Regions from separate parts of the Homo sapiens genome. Here all the other regions are linked to region 4. Evidence: promoter capture Hi-C in human tissues and cell types (Jung and others, 2019). All regions are on one chromosome and are shown on one strand. The core of a region is centred on a gene start or on the middle of the fragment in contact, and the rest is flanking DNA. Distances in the headings are between cores, read along the strand shown.

Region 1 (2,700 bases), core at 201-2,700, 270 kb before region 4:
ATGGAGGACTGAGTATGTGTAAGTCATTGATAGCAGTAAAAGTGACTATTGTCCCCAAAGCTTTCTTGTCGAATGCCTGTGAATTTCGAGGGTGGGAATAACACACTCATGGTTATCATATGAAACCTATTTGTGGCAAGATAGTAGAAATAAAACAAACTGTGTAATCTGTCCACGATCTTGAGAATTTACCAACACTTGGGAAAAAATAGCAAGTGCTTAAAGAGAAGAATATCAGTGTAAAGGAGCATGGACTACAAGTCTGTTAAGTGGTACAGGCAGTAATTACAACCATTAAACCACTCAGAAGAATGGTTTATCTCCAGGGTTATAAAGGTAAAGCTTTATGTGGGAACCAGCATGTACTTTGGCATTAAGAGAAGGGAAGGAGAACAGAAAGTAAATAGAAAGAGTTTAATAAGAAGGAGACAGAGCAGGCATTTTAAACTGAGGAAATTATATGCAAAAGTACAGGGGTGGAGTTGGGAAGGGACACCAGTGTTGAAGTATTCCTGTTACTTGTTGGTATCATCATTCACCCTATCAGCTGGTAGGAGAGCACCAGAAACCCAAGTCTTCTTAGACTCCTCCTCCCCATTAACTCAAAGGTAATATCCAGAAGAAACAAAGAACATTTGTGGAAGGAGAGTAAGAGTCATGACTCAGTTTTGATCCTAAGTGACCAGAATAATAGATTTTAAAAATATATGGGTAGGGAGGTAGTTTGAAGGAGACAATAATGAAGAGAGAGACCCTTTCCTTTAAAATAGGAATAAAGAAGCAAAAGGTAGGTGAATATACCAAGAACTTCCAATTAAAAGATGAGGGAACTTGTAGTAATCTCCCTTCTGTGTGTTAGAGAATGCGGCTATGTAGCTTTGTACCTTGAGGGACTTAACAAGGGTTAATTATAATCAACTGTTGAAACACACTGTTCTAAACGCAGTATTATTCACTTGCCACCTATTTTGGGAGTTCATGTATAAGCATATAAAATTACCATTAGACTGTTTCAAAGTGGTAGACCTTATTTTAAAGTAAGAGCATTTATTTTACATGTTTAAAATAAGGGATATGTAAATCTTTCCTTTCTCCCTACTCACCTCTGTTCACCACAGGCAGTCATTGTTGACATCATCTTGTGCTTCATTCTAGAAAAATTTGGCATATATGTATATAATATTACACGTTATGTGTTACAAGTATATATTAACATACATATCTTGATAATGTATTTATACTATGTATCTTGAAACAATTTCATTTACATCTTTTAATTATGTGAAATCTTTTCTCTTTTCCTTTGGCCTCTGGCCCCATTTCCTTTATATAGGGAAGTATACTATGGGGATATAAATTCCAAATACCTGTTTTGTTTGTCTATCCAATTTTCTATTTCATTGCATTCACATTGGATTAAAGTTGCTTAAAATAGCAAAACATTTTCCTTTTTTATTTAAAATTTTTTGTCTTAAAAAGCATGAGGAGAAGGCATGGAAATATTAGTCACATTTCTTGGTATTCAATATTCCTGTGAGTAGTGTTTATTAAAAGCTCATCTTTCTTGCTTGGCATATCCGTACAGTTTCCTCCCACTAGAGGGCACTAGGATATTGTTTGTTTTTAGTGGTCTGTTTATGATGAACTTAGCATTAATTTTCATATGTTTTCTTATTTGTCCTGCATTATAATAGGAATTAAATTGTCATGCTGATGTCACTTTGTTAGCGATATATGGACAATTAAGGCACCTTCCCTGCTATCAATTATGACTTCGAAGACTATTTTGTGCTTAATACTTAAGAAGAAAGGGAGAGGGGGAGCTTAGAGCAATGGGAAGTTCCAGAAATAGACCTCTACCTATAGAATGAACTGGATTTTGAAAAAGAAGCCAAGATAATTCTGTGGGGAAAAATTTTTCTTTCCAACAAATGGTGCTGGAACAACTAAATACTGTTTGGGGGCAAAGTGAACTTTGTTTCTGATCTCATTCCAAGTATAGAAGTTAACTCAAAATGGATCATAGACTATAGAAAAAAACAAAGGAGAAAATCTTCATGACCTTGGGGTAGGCAAAACTTTCTTTGCACACAAAAAATACTCTAAAAGAAAATGTTTTGATAGAGTTCTCCAAAATTAGAAACTTCTATTCAAAAGACACAGGTAAGTAAATAAAAAGGCAAGCACAGACTGGGAGAAAATATTCACAATACATATACAGAAAAATGACTGGTATTTAGAATTCATATAAAGGAATCTAAAACTCAGTAATAAGATAATCTAGTTTCTTAAATGGAGGAATGATTTGAACAGACATAGCACAGTACATACTATATGAATGCTAATAAGCATATAAGATACTCAACACCACGAGAGAAGTGCAAATTAAAACCACAGTGAGATACTGCACACCTGCTAGAATGGCTAAAATTAAAAAGAGTGACAATAGCTACTACTGATGAGGGTGTGGGACAGTTGTAATGATCATGCATTGCTGGTGTGAAACAGTTTATTATAAATTTAATATATTCTTACCAGGTGACCCAGCAATTTCACCCTTACCTATGCATTTACCCAAGAAAATGAAGCCCATTGTTCACATGAAGACCTATACACAAGTGTCCATGACAGTTTGATTCATAATGGCCCCAAAGTGGAAACAACACCACATGTCCATCAATAAATGAATGGATAAATAAA
Region 2 (2,700 bases), core at 6-2,505, 440 kb after region 4:
TGCCTGTAATCTTGGCACTTTGGGAGGCCAAGGCAGGAGGATTGCCTGAGCTCAAAAGTTTGAGACCAGCCTGGGCAACACAGTGAAACCCCATCTCTACTAAAATACAAAAAATTAGCCAGGCATGGTGGCGGGCGCCTGTAATCTCAGCTACTTGGGAGGCTGAGGCAGGAGAATTGCTTAAACCCAGGAGGTGGAGGTTACAGTGAGCCAAGATGGCACCACTGTACTCCAGCCTAGATGACAGAATGAGACTCCATCTCAAAAAAAAAAAAAAGTTGAAGGGAAAAAAGGAAACAAAACAATGGATCAAATTCTTGAAGTCAGGCATATAGCACACTAGGTATGTTTCTAAATAAACTTATGACATAACGTTTAATGTCTCTTCGTGAAACATGCAATGTGATAGCTGGTATGTGCTTACTTTTTCATTTGGGTAATATTCCAGTATAAGTTTTTTTTTGAGACGGAGTCTTCTCTGCCACCCAGGCTGCAGTGCAGTGGCATGGTCTCGGCTCACTGCAACCTCTGCCTCCCAGGTTCAAGCAATTTCTCCTGCCTCAGCCTCCTGAGTAGCTGGGATTACAGGCGCATGCCACCACACCCAGCTAACTGTGCATTCTTTTTTTTCTTTTTGAGATGGAGTCTCATTCCTGTCGCCCAGGCTGGAGTGCAGTGGCATGATCTCGGCTCACTGCAACCTCCGCCTCCCAGGTTCAAGCAATCCTCCTGCCTCAGCCTCCCGAGTCACTGGGACTACAAGCATGTGCCACCATGCCTGGTTAATTTTTGTATTTTTAGTAGAGACAGGGTTTCACCATGTTGGCCAGGCTGGTCTCAAACTCTTGACCTCGTAATCCACTTGCCTCAGCAAACCAAAGTGCTTGGATTACAGGTGTAAGCCACCACGCCCGGCCTAATTTTGTATTTTTAGTAGCGTCAGGGTTTCACCATATTGGCCAGGTTGCTCTCAAACTCCTGACCTCAGGTGATCCGCCCACCTTGGCCTCCTAAAGTGCTAGGATTACAGGCGTAAGCCACCATGCCTAGCCAGTATTAGTTTCTTGATCAAAAAAAGGTGTGTGATTTGGCTTATTTTATGGTCTTAAATTCTGAGATTTTGTTAATTTTTGATTCCTAGGTCAAGACCTTGTTAATAGTTTATAAGACAGAAATTCGGGGCCAGGTTTGGCGGCTCAGGCCTGTACTCCCAACCCTCTGGGAGGCTGTGGCAGCATAATTGCTTGAGGCCAGGAGTTCGAGACCTGCCTGGGCAACATAGCAAGACTTTGTCTACACACACACACACACACACACACACACACACACACACACGGGTAGGGGTGCAAACTTGGCAGGAAAAAAAAGCAGCTGGAGCTACTAAAGACTTCTCTCAAAGCAAGGTGATGTGAACAGCTTTTAAGGTGGCTCCAATGATCCCTGCCTTCTTATATTCATGCCCTTGTGTTATCTGCTCCTCTTGAGTATGGGCTGGCCTAGTGACTTGCTTCTAATGCATAAAATATGACAAAAATGATGAGATGTCACTTTTGAGATTAGATTACAAAATGAGGCTGGCTTGTATCTTGTTCTCTCCTTTGCTCACTCTGATGGAAGTCAGCTGCCAAGTTGTGAACTTTCCTTTAGAGAAGCCCACATAGCAAGGAACCAAGTGGGGAGGGACATCTCTGGCCAATGGCCAGTATAGAACTGAAGCCCTCTGTCCAACAGACACAAGTAAATGAATCCTGCCAACAGTATGCCAATGACTGAGTTTGGAAGTGGACCCTTTCCTAGTTGTTTTTTTTTTTTTTTTTTTTTTTTGACACGGAGTCTTGCTCTGCTGCCAAGGCTGGAATGCAGTGGCGCGATCTCGACTCACTGCAAACTCTGCCTCCTAGGTTCAAGCTATTCTCCTGCCTCAGACTCCTGAGTAGCTGGGATTACAAGTGAGCACCACCACACCTGGCTAATTTTGTTTTGTTTTGTTTTATTTTATTTTATTTTTCTTTTGAGACAATTTTCCTAGTTGAGCCTTGAAATGACAGTGCCCTGACCAACCTTAATTGCAGTCTGTGAGAGACCCTGAGCCAGAGGACTCAGCTAAGCCATGCCTGGATTCCTGATCCACAGAAATTATGAAATAAAAACTGTTTGTTGTTTTAAGATCACTAAGTTTTGGGGCAATTTGCTATGCAGCAATAGGTAGCTAATACACAAAGGAAAATCTAGAAAGAGACATTATAGTAGTGTAGTCTCTAATAATCTAAAAAACATTAGATTATAATCCTGGATCTGCCATTTGCTAACAGGTTCATCTTGGGCAAGTCATATAACCTGCCCCAAACTGTTTCCTCTTCTGTAAAACAAGTATAATAATAATGCTTATTTTCATAGGTTTAAGGTCAAGATCGAATGTGATAATATATACAAAAACATACTATATACAAGTATTAGTTATTATTTCTTCTTTTCTCAGGCTCTTAGTTTTTTCTTCTGTAAAAAGAAAAGGTTAGATAACCTCAACTGTCCCTCTGAGTGATAACATATTAGGATGCTGACTTTCCTATATAATTTCTTACCAAGGTTTTATTCTTAAGTTTAAAGCATCACAGTAAGTGGTGTAATACCTTGGAGGAATTCTAGAAGCAGGCAGAAAGTGCAATTCACATGAACTAAAAAAGGATATAGAAAATGTTT
Region 3 (2,700 bases), core at 74-2,573, 350 kb before region 4:
CAGTTCTCAATTTTTTTTTTTTTTTGCCTTTAAAAGGAAAAAAAAAAAGAATCCCCCATCCTTCACTTTTTCTGTTACTGTGTATTCTGTTGGATTGTTGCTTAAATACAAAATACTAACCTTATGCCTAATTTAGGTACTACGTGTATACCAGGACTACATGATATCCTTCTTAGAAGATAATACTTAGTGACATTAATAATTCATTGGGAGACTTCTCCATGTTCTTTTAGATAATTGCCTTTTCTGATTAAAGCTTGGAATGCCAATAGTTGGAATAAAGCAGTCACTTCTTTGATCTGTTACCCATTATAAAATTTATGTTATTTATCTTGCTTTTTTTTTTTTTTTTTTTACAAGAATCTCTGCTTATAGCAGATAAAAATACTGACTGACTTCCAGAGAGTTCCCTGAGATACCAGGTAAGATCTTGGATAGAATGGAGTGTAGGAAACAAACAGTTCCTATCGTAAGCAATTTTTGTTGCTAGAACAAAATCCTTTTGTAGGTCATGAACTTTTGAGTAGCCTGAGTTTTGAGTTAGCCTCAATTAAGGTTTTTGGTTGTTTTACCACCCAGGCTCCAGATTAGCAACTGGAGACAGGAGCTGTGATGGAATTAAAGTAACCGTGGCAACCATTATAATGTAAATGAGCCTTCTTGGGCAGGAAGTTGAGAGCGTGAGCACTTGTTAGGGCATTCCTTTATTACATCTACAACTAGAGCTGAGTAGCATTTTGCTATTTTAAAATCCTGCTCCTTGGACACCATCAAGTCCTGTGTTATTCCAACCTTCTTTTAGTTTTCTGAGAAACTAACACCAAACTAATATGTATATAAAATAGGAAATGAATCTCTGGTGTGCCTCCTTCATTCACATTAAGACCTCTTCTTCCTTTAATAACATTACCTTTTTCCCACTGCTTCTGGCAATAACACTCAGCACCAAGTCTCTGATAAACAAAGAAGGCCACTTAGGTTTTGAGAGATGTGGTGTGTACCTAGTATACTCTGATGGCCAAGATTTGGCTTATGGTGGAACAAGTGGTGCCAGGGCCCCTTCTTAAGCAGCACAGGAGCGACAAATCTTTGGTCTCAAATCTTAATTTTTTATATTAGTCTTTAAAATTTTAAATTATTTTAAAATTTTTTTCAATAAGTCTTTTGTACTCCTAACCTTTGAATTTCAAGTCATAAGATTGTAAGTTTTAGAGTATTAATGTAGGCTTACTCTTTGTGGATTTAGAGATTAGATGACTGGAGGAGAATAATAAAAGTGAAACTGAAGTAATTACCAAATGAGGTTGAGTTCTAAGTTAAGTACTGTACTTGTTTACTACCCCACAATGAGTCCAGTGATTTTAACAACAAGGCTTGTAAGCGAGAAGCTTAAGGTTCCTATTCAAGGTTAACTATTGTTATGATGTTGGTGCTAGGAAAATAACTTCCCTCAACCTCAGTTTTTCTCTTTGTAAAGGAAGAGTGAAAACGACGACTCACTCTGTTGTGGGGAAATACTTACAAAAGGAAATAAAATTTAACTAGTAGTATGGTCAAGAATGTCAGCTGAGGTTGGCCAGGCGAGGTAGCTCACATCTGTAATTCCAGTGCTTTGGGAGGTTGAAGCAGGCAGATCATCTGAGGTCAGGAGTTCGAGACCAGCCTGGCCAACATGGTGAAACCCTGTCTTTGCTAAAAATACAAAACTAGCTGGGCATGGTGGCATGTGCCTGTAATCCCAGCTACTTGGGAGACTGAGGCAGGAGAATCGCTTGAACCCAGGAGGCGAAGGTTGCAGTGAGCCGAGATCATGCCTTTGCCCTCCAGCCTGGGCAACGTGAGTGAAACTCCATCTCAAAAAAAAAAAAAAAAAGCTGATATAAGACAAATTCTGATTTTTAAGGTAATGTGCCTTAGTTATGCCTGCTTAGCTTGTGCCAGTTAAGGCTTTTTACTTTGATTTTAAGTTTCCTTCCTCCTACTTCATCCTTTTGTTGAGTTGTCATTCAGATCACAACAGATACTCTTGTATAACTGTCTTTGTTGGCTTAGTCTTCAACAGGTGGATTGATCTTGGACTTCAAATATTTGAGCATTTACTATATGCAAAGCTTGGAACTGGGTGCATAGGGAATAAATATAAAATGTATACAAGTGTGATTCCTGCCCTTCAATATACAATCATTCAAATACTTGTAGACAGTTCTGCTCTTACTTTTCCTACCCCAGATAGTCTCTTCTCCATGGAAATCATTCCTGCTTCTCTTAATCATTCTTCATATGATGTAGTCGGCCAGGCCATTACTACCATCCTGGCTATCAGCATCACTTGTAAGAGGTCATGTTTCAAATTATAATTCTCAGGGTGTTGCTTGACCTGTTTCATATTTCAAATTATAATTCTCAGGGTGTTGCTTGACCTGTTTCAATTTTCTTCCTTGTTCAGGTCACTGTACTGTTATTTTATTACCTATGAATTTGTATTAACTTTTAAGCTGTCAATTCAGTACAAAGGCCCACCTTGAGCTTACAGTCAACTGAACTCTCATCAACACATGTTAAAATTGGTTTCAATTTTTTTTTTTTGAGACGGAGTCTTGCCCTGTCACCCAGGCTGGAGTGCAGTGGCACGATCTCTGCTCACTGCAACCTCCGCCTCCTGGGTTCAAGTGATTCTCCTGCCTCAGCCTCCCGAGTAGC
Region 4 (2,700 bases), core at 100-2,599:
GCAGTGAACAATGATTGCACCACTGCCCTCCAGCCTAGGTAATAGAGTGAGAATCTGTCTCACAAACAAACACATCTAATTTAACATGGGGACTCCAGAGACAGAGGAAAGAGTAATGGATCATTTCCAGGTTTCTGGCTTGAGCACTTGGGTGGCTAGTGTTGGCACTCTCCTAGAAAACACTGGAGAAAAAGACATTCAATTTTTGGATATGTTGAATTTTGAGGTTAATAGAATCTTGAAAATTAAAGCTTCCTGATTTTGTTAATCCGTTTTCTGACACCCTTTAGCAATTCTTCAATGCAATGCTTTTCACATTATTATATGCATAAGAATCACCAGGGGTGTGGAGATGGGGATGTGAAAATGCAGGTTCCTAGGCAAACAAGCCAAGATTCTGGATACCAACTGGGTCCCAGGACTCAAAACAATCAGCCTGAGTAATTCTGATGGAGGGAGTCTCCTGACGACACTAAAAAAACAACAAAAACGACCCCTCTGCCGGGCATGGTGTCCTGTAATACCAGCACTTTGGGAGGCTGAGTCGGGAGGATCGCTTGGGCCCAGGAGTTCGAGACCAGCCTAGGCAACATAGGGTGACCACCCACCCCCGTTTCTAAAAGTAAAAAAAGACCCCTCGTGTGTCTCCACCGTTAGGTTGTTTTCCCACTGTCCACCCCTCCCTACTTCTCAGGCACCTGCTTGGGGGCCCCTATTGCTTCGAATAAGCTCCGTGGGAGCCAGGACTTTGTCTTGCTAACAGGTGCATCTTCAGCGCACTCAGAACAATATCTGGCACAGCACGAGACACCTAGAAATGTTCGCCGAACGATCGAATGGCTGAATACATTCATATGTTGCTTTGTACAAAAACTTGCTTTCAAATATCTGGGAAGAGTTAGAGATAGGAAAGCAGAGGTCATTTCAAAGAGAGAGAGTGAGGATACCACCGGGAAGGCAGCGCCGAAAAAACCAGAGGGGAACCACTTGCCGATCCCCCAGGCACAGTCTGGAGGTCCCAATTCCCGCGGTAGGGGGGCGAGAGATGCCACTCGTCTGATCAGCAACCATTTTGGGCCCGCTTGCGCCGCTTCTCCGGGGCGTCCGCGTTGTGCTCATCCAGTTGCTTTTGAGGTTCCGGCCCCCTCCAAACCTCTGAAGCGCTCCGTGCACGCGACGCGGCGGCGGGGTAAGCTGGAGCCCTCGCCGCGAGCCCTCTCCGCTGCCTGCCCGCAGCACAGCCGCGCCGACCTCCTCATCATGGCGGCGGCCGGGCGGGGAAGCCGGGCCGTGCGTCGCGTGCGTGCCCTCTCCCTCCCCTCCCCCTCCTCGGCGGCGGCGGCGGCGGCAGAAGCGGCAGCGCTCGCCATTGCCGCTGGTGGCAGGAGGCTGCGAGGAGCCGGCGCGGTCGCAGTCTCCACGGCGCAGGCCCACGGTAGCGCAGCCGCTCTGAGGTGAGTGCCCTACCGCGCAATCTCCAGCTATTTCAGCCCCGGCGCAGCCGCAACACGCCGCCCGCCCGCCGGCCGGCCGGCCCGCCCCGCAGCCGGCACCCTGCCGCCCCCGGCTCTGGGCCTGGGCCCCCGCCGGATTCGGCCCGCCTCGGGCGGGGGGCCCCGGCCCGGCCCAGCCAAACCGCCACCCCGAGGATGCGCAGGCCGCACTAGGCCCCAGGCGTCCTGGCGGGCTCGGGAGGGAGGCGCTGCCCTCCCGAGAGCCCCAGGGTTCCGGCCTCCTCCGCCGCCTGGGGCTCTCGGGGCCGCGGCCTTCTCCCCGCCGTGGAACCCGGGGCCCGGCCTTCCCGCAGCTCGGGAGCGGGAGGCGCGGGAGAGTGCGCCGGGCCCGGGAGCGGGAGGTGGGCGGGCTGCGCGGGACCGGAGCCGCGGCTCTCGGCTCGCCCCCTCGGCCCTTCCCGGCTCTCGTACGCGGGCGGGCGGGCGGGCGGCGCGGTGGGGCCGGGCTGGGGCGCGGGAGCCGCTGTCTCCTGCGGGAGAGGAGGCTGGCTCTTTGGGCGACCTCCGAAGCTTCCCTCCTGCCGGGGTGGCGTGGGCTTGTTACCCAGGTAGACTGGGGGACGCTGGAATATGGCGCGTTGCCCACCTTCTTGCAAGTTAGGAGGTGGCCGGGGCGGCAGTTCGAGGAGGAGGGCGCAAAGTCCTTTTGTACGCAGAAATAAGGAGCGACATTGTGTTTTCTTCCCCAGCTGAGATGTGCCCGCGGAGGGGCCGCGGTTCTTCCTGTGCCTGGGGTGGTGGTCCCCTGGGTGAGGGAGAGGGGGAGTGGCACGCCCCTCCGAAGGAACAGAACCTTTTGCCACTGGAAAGACAGGGGCTCTGAGATGGCCGTGTGCATGGTATTTTCCCATATCCCCAGACCTTTTCGGGTTTGTCATTGAATGTTGTGCACTCCATCGTGCAATGATGTCTGCTGCCTCTCTCACCTGTTGTGTCGTGGCTGCTGGTCCCAAAGTTTCTGCAGTGTATTTGGCTGTGCCCACCAGAACTTGAAGTTGTTTAAAAATCTTAATACTTGGGGGGCTTCCAGTGATATCTGCTCCAACCAGTTGGAGGAGCTGTTGCCTGCTCTCCATTCTTCTTAAGCATTAGATTAGAATATATTAATTGCTTATTTTAGAGCTGGTGTCAATCGTGCTGATTTCTTTATGTGGTCAGAGCAAAATTCACATTTTTTTAAGTGTTC
Region 5 (2,700 bases), core at 124-2,623, 330 kb before region 4:
TATTTATTGAGGATTGATTTATGGCCTCAAATATGGCTTATCTTGGTAAATTTTTTATATGCACTGAAAAAATATTTTTCTATTATTGGTGCATTTTTCTTGTGTTTTTTGTTCTTATGGTTCATTTAGCATCTTAGATCTATGAGTTTATTGTCAATATCAAATTTGGAAAAATTTGGCCACTATTTCTTTAAATATCCCTGTTTATCCTCTCTTTACTTCTGGGAACTCTAGTTACATGTATATTAAACTGCTTAAAGTGTTCCCAGAATTCACTCATGGTCTTTTTATTCTTTTTCCACTCTGGTTTACTTTGGGTAGTTTTTATTATGTGTCTTCTAGTTCACTCATCTCTTATGTTTTGTCTGATCTGCCATCAGTCTTATCCAATGCATTTTTCATATTAGACATTATTCTTTTTATCTGTAGAAGTTGGATTTAGGCCTTATTTTCTTTCTCCCATGTTTCTACTTAGCTTTTTGAATATGGAATAACTTTGTTAATTCCCTTGTCTGCTAATTCTAACATATATGTCAATTTTGTTAGCTTCAGTTGATTGATTTTTTTCTTCTTCATGGGTCATATTTTCTTTGCATGTTTGATAAATTTTTGTGGATTATAAACATTGTGAATTTTACCTGTTTAGGTACTGGATTTTTTTTTTATTTGTTCTGTGTCACAGTTAATTTATTAATACAGTTGAATCCTTTCCTTAAGATTTGTTTCAAAAACATAGAGAGAAGAGGGGGAGAAAAAAAAATATTTGTTAGGTGGGGCCAGAGCAGTTTTCCATCTAGGGTAGTTACTCCCCAGGATCCTTGGAATACTCTACCTCGTGCCTTGTTAATTACGGGGTTTTCCAGTTTGGCTGGTGGGAACAGGCATTGTTCTTGTTCTGTTTGAGTGCCAGTTAGTGTTCCCTCTAGTTTTCTAAGTAGTTCCTACATGCACTCACTGGTCAGTACCCCACTGAGTACTTAAGAGGAGCCCACTGCAGAGCTCCAGGTGCTCCCAGCATGCAGCGCGTTTTCCAGTACTCCATCCTGCACACTGTCTCTGCCTTGGCCTTCCCAGACTCTCAGCTCAATCTCTTCAACGAAGATAGCCCTGGGCTCTACTTGGGTTCCTCCTTCATTAAACTGCACCTTGGAAATATTCTCAAGGCAGTAAGCAGAAGCATTCACAGAACTTACTTCACTTGTTTTCTGTCTCTCAGGGATTGCTGTTCTTCATTGCCTAATGTGCAGTGTCTTTGAAACCATCATTTCATGTATTTTCTCTGCTTTTTTTGTTTGTTTGTTTCAGGCAGGTAGGTAAATCTTATACTTGTTATTACATATTGGCTAGAAATGGAAGTCCATTATTTTAAATACTTCTTATGTGCTTGAAATGTTTCAGGATAAACATATAGACTAAATGGATATATTTGCCAAAGATGAGGTACTGACAGAAATTTTCTAGACTTTAAAATTAAGTTTCACCTTCTTCTCTTCCATCATTTTGAGACTAAAGTTTTATATTTTAAGTGTTTTTTGGTATTTGCTTGTGCTTTGCTTTTTATCTATAAAAAAGAGGTTTAATATGTTCTATGGTTGTGTGACTCAAACAATATAGTACTTTTTGTACCACAGGCCCTGAGGTCTGAACTCAGCATCACTATCTTTTTTCATATTAGCTTCCAAATAGCATCAGGTGGTCATTTTTAAAATTTAAAACCAGTCTACCTATCTTGTTTGATTTGATCTTGTGACCTTAGGGAAGAAACCCACCCAGGAATAGAATAAAGAAACTTTTTACATCCTGAGGCTTTAAAAAACAAAATCAAAATCCAGCTATTTAAAAAATTTTAATATCTTTAAACCTTTCTACAATGGAGTCATTTTTTTAAAAGAAAGCACTGTCCTTTGCCTGGTTAATGAATAATGTGAGTACTATTTTATTATAAATAATTGATTTCCAGGACTTCCTGGGGTAGGAAGAATGTGTCCTAGCTGAATAAATTAAGGGAAGTGATAAGGACTGAATTCTGTTAGTGGAAGTAATAAACGAAAGAAAGTTATGTGGTTGGGGTTGACTGTGAGCAGAGAGTGATTCCGTAGTTAAGATGAAGGGATTTGTTAGTCTTCTCAGAGAGGAAGGACAAGCGTGAGGAATAGGAAAATTTCACCTGTAGGTGGGATGGAAAAAGCTTGGAATAATTGGCCGGGCATGGTGGCTCACGCCTGTAATCCCAGCACTTTGGGAGGCTGAGGTGGGCGGATCACCTAAGGTCAGGAGTTCAAGACCAGTCTGGCCAACATGGTGAAACCCCCATCTCTAATAAAAATAAAAAAATTAGCTGGGCATGGTGGCATGTGCCTGTAATCCCAGCTGCTTGGTAGGCTGAGGCAGGAGAATCGCTGGAACCCAGGAGGCAGAGGTTACAGTGAGCCAAGATCGCACCACTGCACTCCAGCCTAGATGACAGAGTTGAGACTTCGTCTCAAAAAAAAAAAAAAAAAAAAGCTTGGAATAGTTGTTTGGGGGCCATCCTGAGACAATGTGATTCTCACATATGGGAGTATGAAGATAAGGAATCTCTTGGAGAATTCTAGCTTGTGACTTTCACTCCTGCTTTCTCTTTCTCCTCTATGTTCAGTATGCAATTGTTGATTAATTGAAAAGGAGTGGAAATGAAAAAACTAAAAAATTTTTTTTTCA

What was found. The method cuts DNA at HindIII sites, captures the fragments that hold promoters and counts their contacts. A contact is called where the count stands out against the background at its distance.
Region 1: a fragment that was not itself captured here is called in contact with the fragment with the promoter of NRF1 in region 4 in 1 of the 25 tissues and cell types used here (heart left ventricle).
Region 2: a fragment that was not itself captured here is called in contact with the fragment with the promoter of NRF1 in region 4 in 1 of the 25 tissues and cell types used here (mesendoderm cells).
Region 3: a contact is called between a fragment that was not itself captured here and the fragment with the promoter of NRF1 in region 4, in 2 of the 25 tissues and cell types used here (mesenchymal stem cells and mesendoderm cells).
Region 5: a fragment that was not itself captured here is called in contact with the fragment with the promoter of NRF1 in region 4 in 1 of the 25 tissues and cell types used here (IMR-90 fibroblasts).

Annotation. Positions count from the first base shown.
Region 1 is chr7:129,341,677-129,344,376 of GRCh38, forward strand. All of the region lies in intron 1 of AHCYL2 (adenosylhomocysteinase like 2), which reads left to right. LOC105375500 (a long non-coding RNA gene) reads left to right here. Exons shown (of 2, transcript XR_927962.3): 1 at 1-2,700. Among named protein-coding and RNA genes, the nearest start is that of STRIP2, 91 kb to the right of the region's middle. The HindIII fragment of the contact is 3,656 bases long and covers 1-2,700 here.
Region 2 is chr7:130,046,344-130,049,043 of GRCh38, forward strand. ZC3HC1 (zinc finger C3HC-type containing 1) reads right to left here. Exons shown (of 10, transcript NM_016478.5): 2 at 2,690-2,700. Among named protein-coding and RNA genes, the nearest start is that of ZC3HC1, 3.7 kb to the right of the region's middle. The HindIII fragment of the contact is 4,946 bases long and covers 1-2,700 here.
Region 3 is chr7:129,258,221-129,260,920 of GRCh38, forward strand. The region is part of intron 1 of AHCYL2 (adenosylhomocysteinase like 2); the gene reads left to right. Among named protein-coding and RNA genes, the nearest start is that of AHCYL2, 35 kb to the left of the region's middle. The HindIII fragment of the contact is 3,313 bases long and covers 1-2,700 here.
Region 4 is chr7:129,610,371-129,613,070 of GRCh38, forward strand. NRF1 (nuclear respiratory factor 1) reads left to right here and starts at 1,350. Exons shown (of 11, transcript NM_005011.5): 1 at 1,350-1,454. RefSeq lists enhancers at 768-817, 2,498-2,637 and a silencer at 1,208-2,197. The HindIII fragment of the contact is 9,254 bases long and covers 1-2,700 here.
Region 5 is chr7:129,282,116-129,284,815 of GRCh38, forward strand. The region is part of intron 1 of AHCYL2 (adenosylhomocysteinase like 2); the gene reads left to right. Among named protein-coding and RNA genes, the nearest start is that of AHCYL2, 58 kb to the left of the region's middle. The HindIII fragment of the contact is 3,996 bases long and covers 1-2,700 here.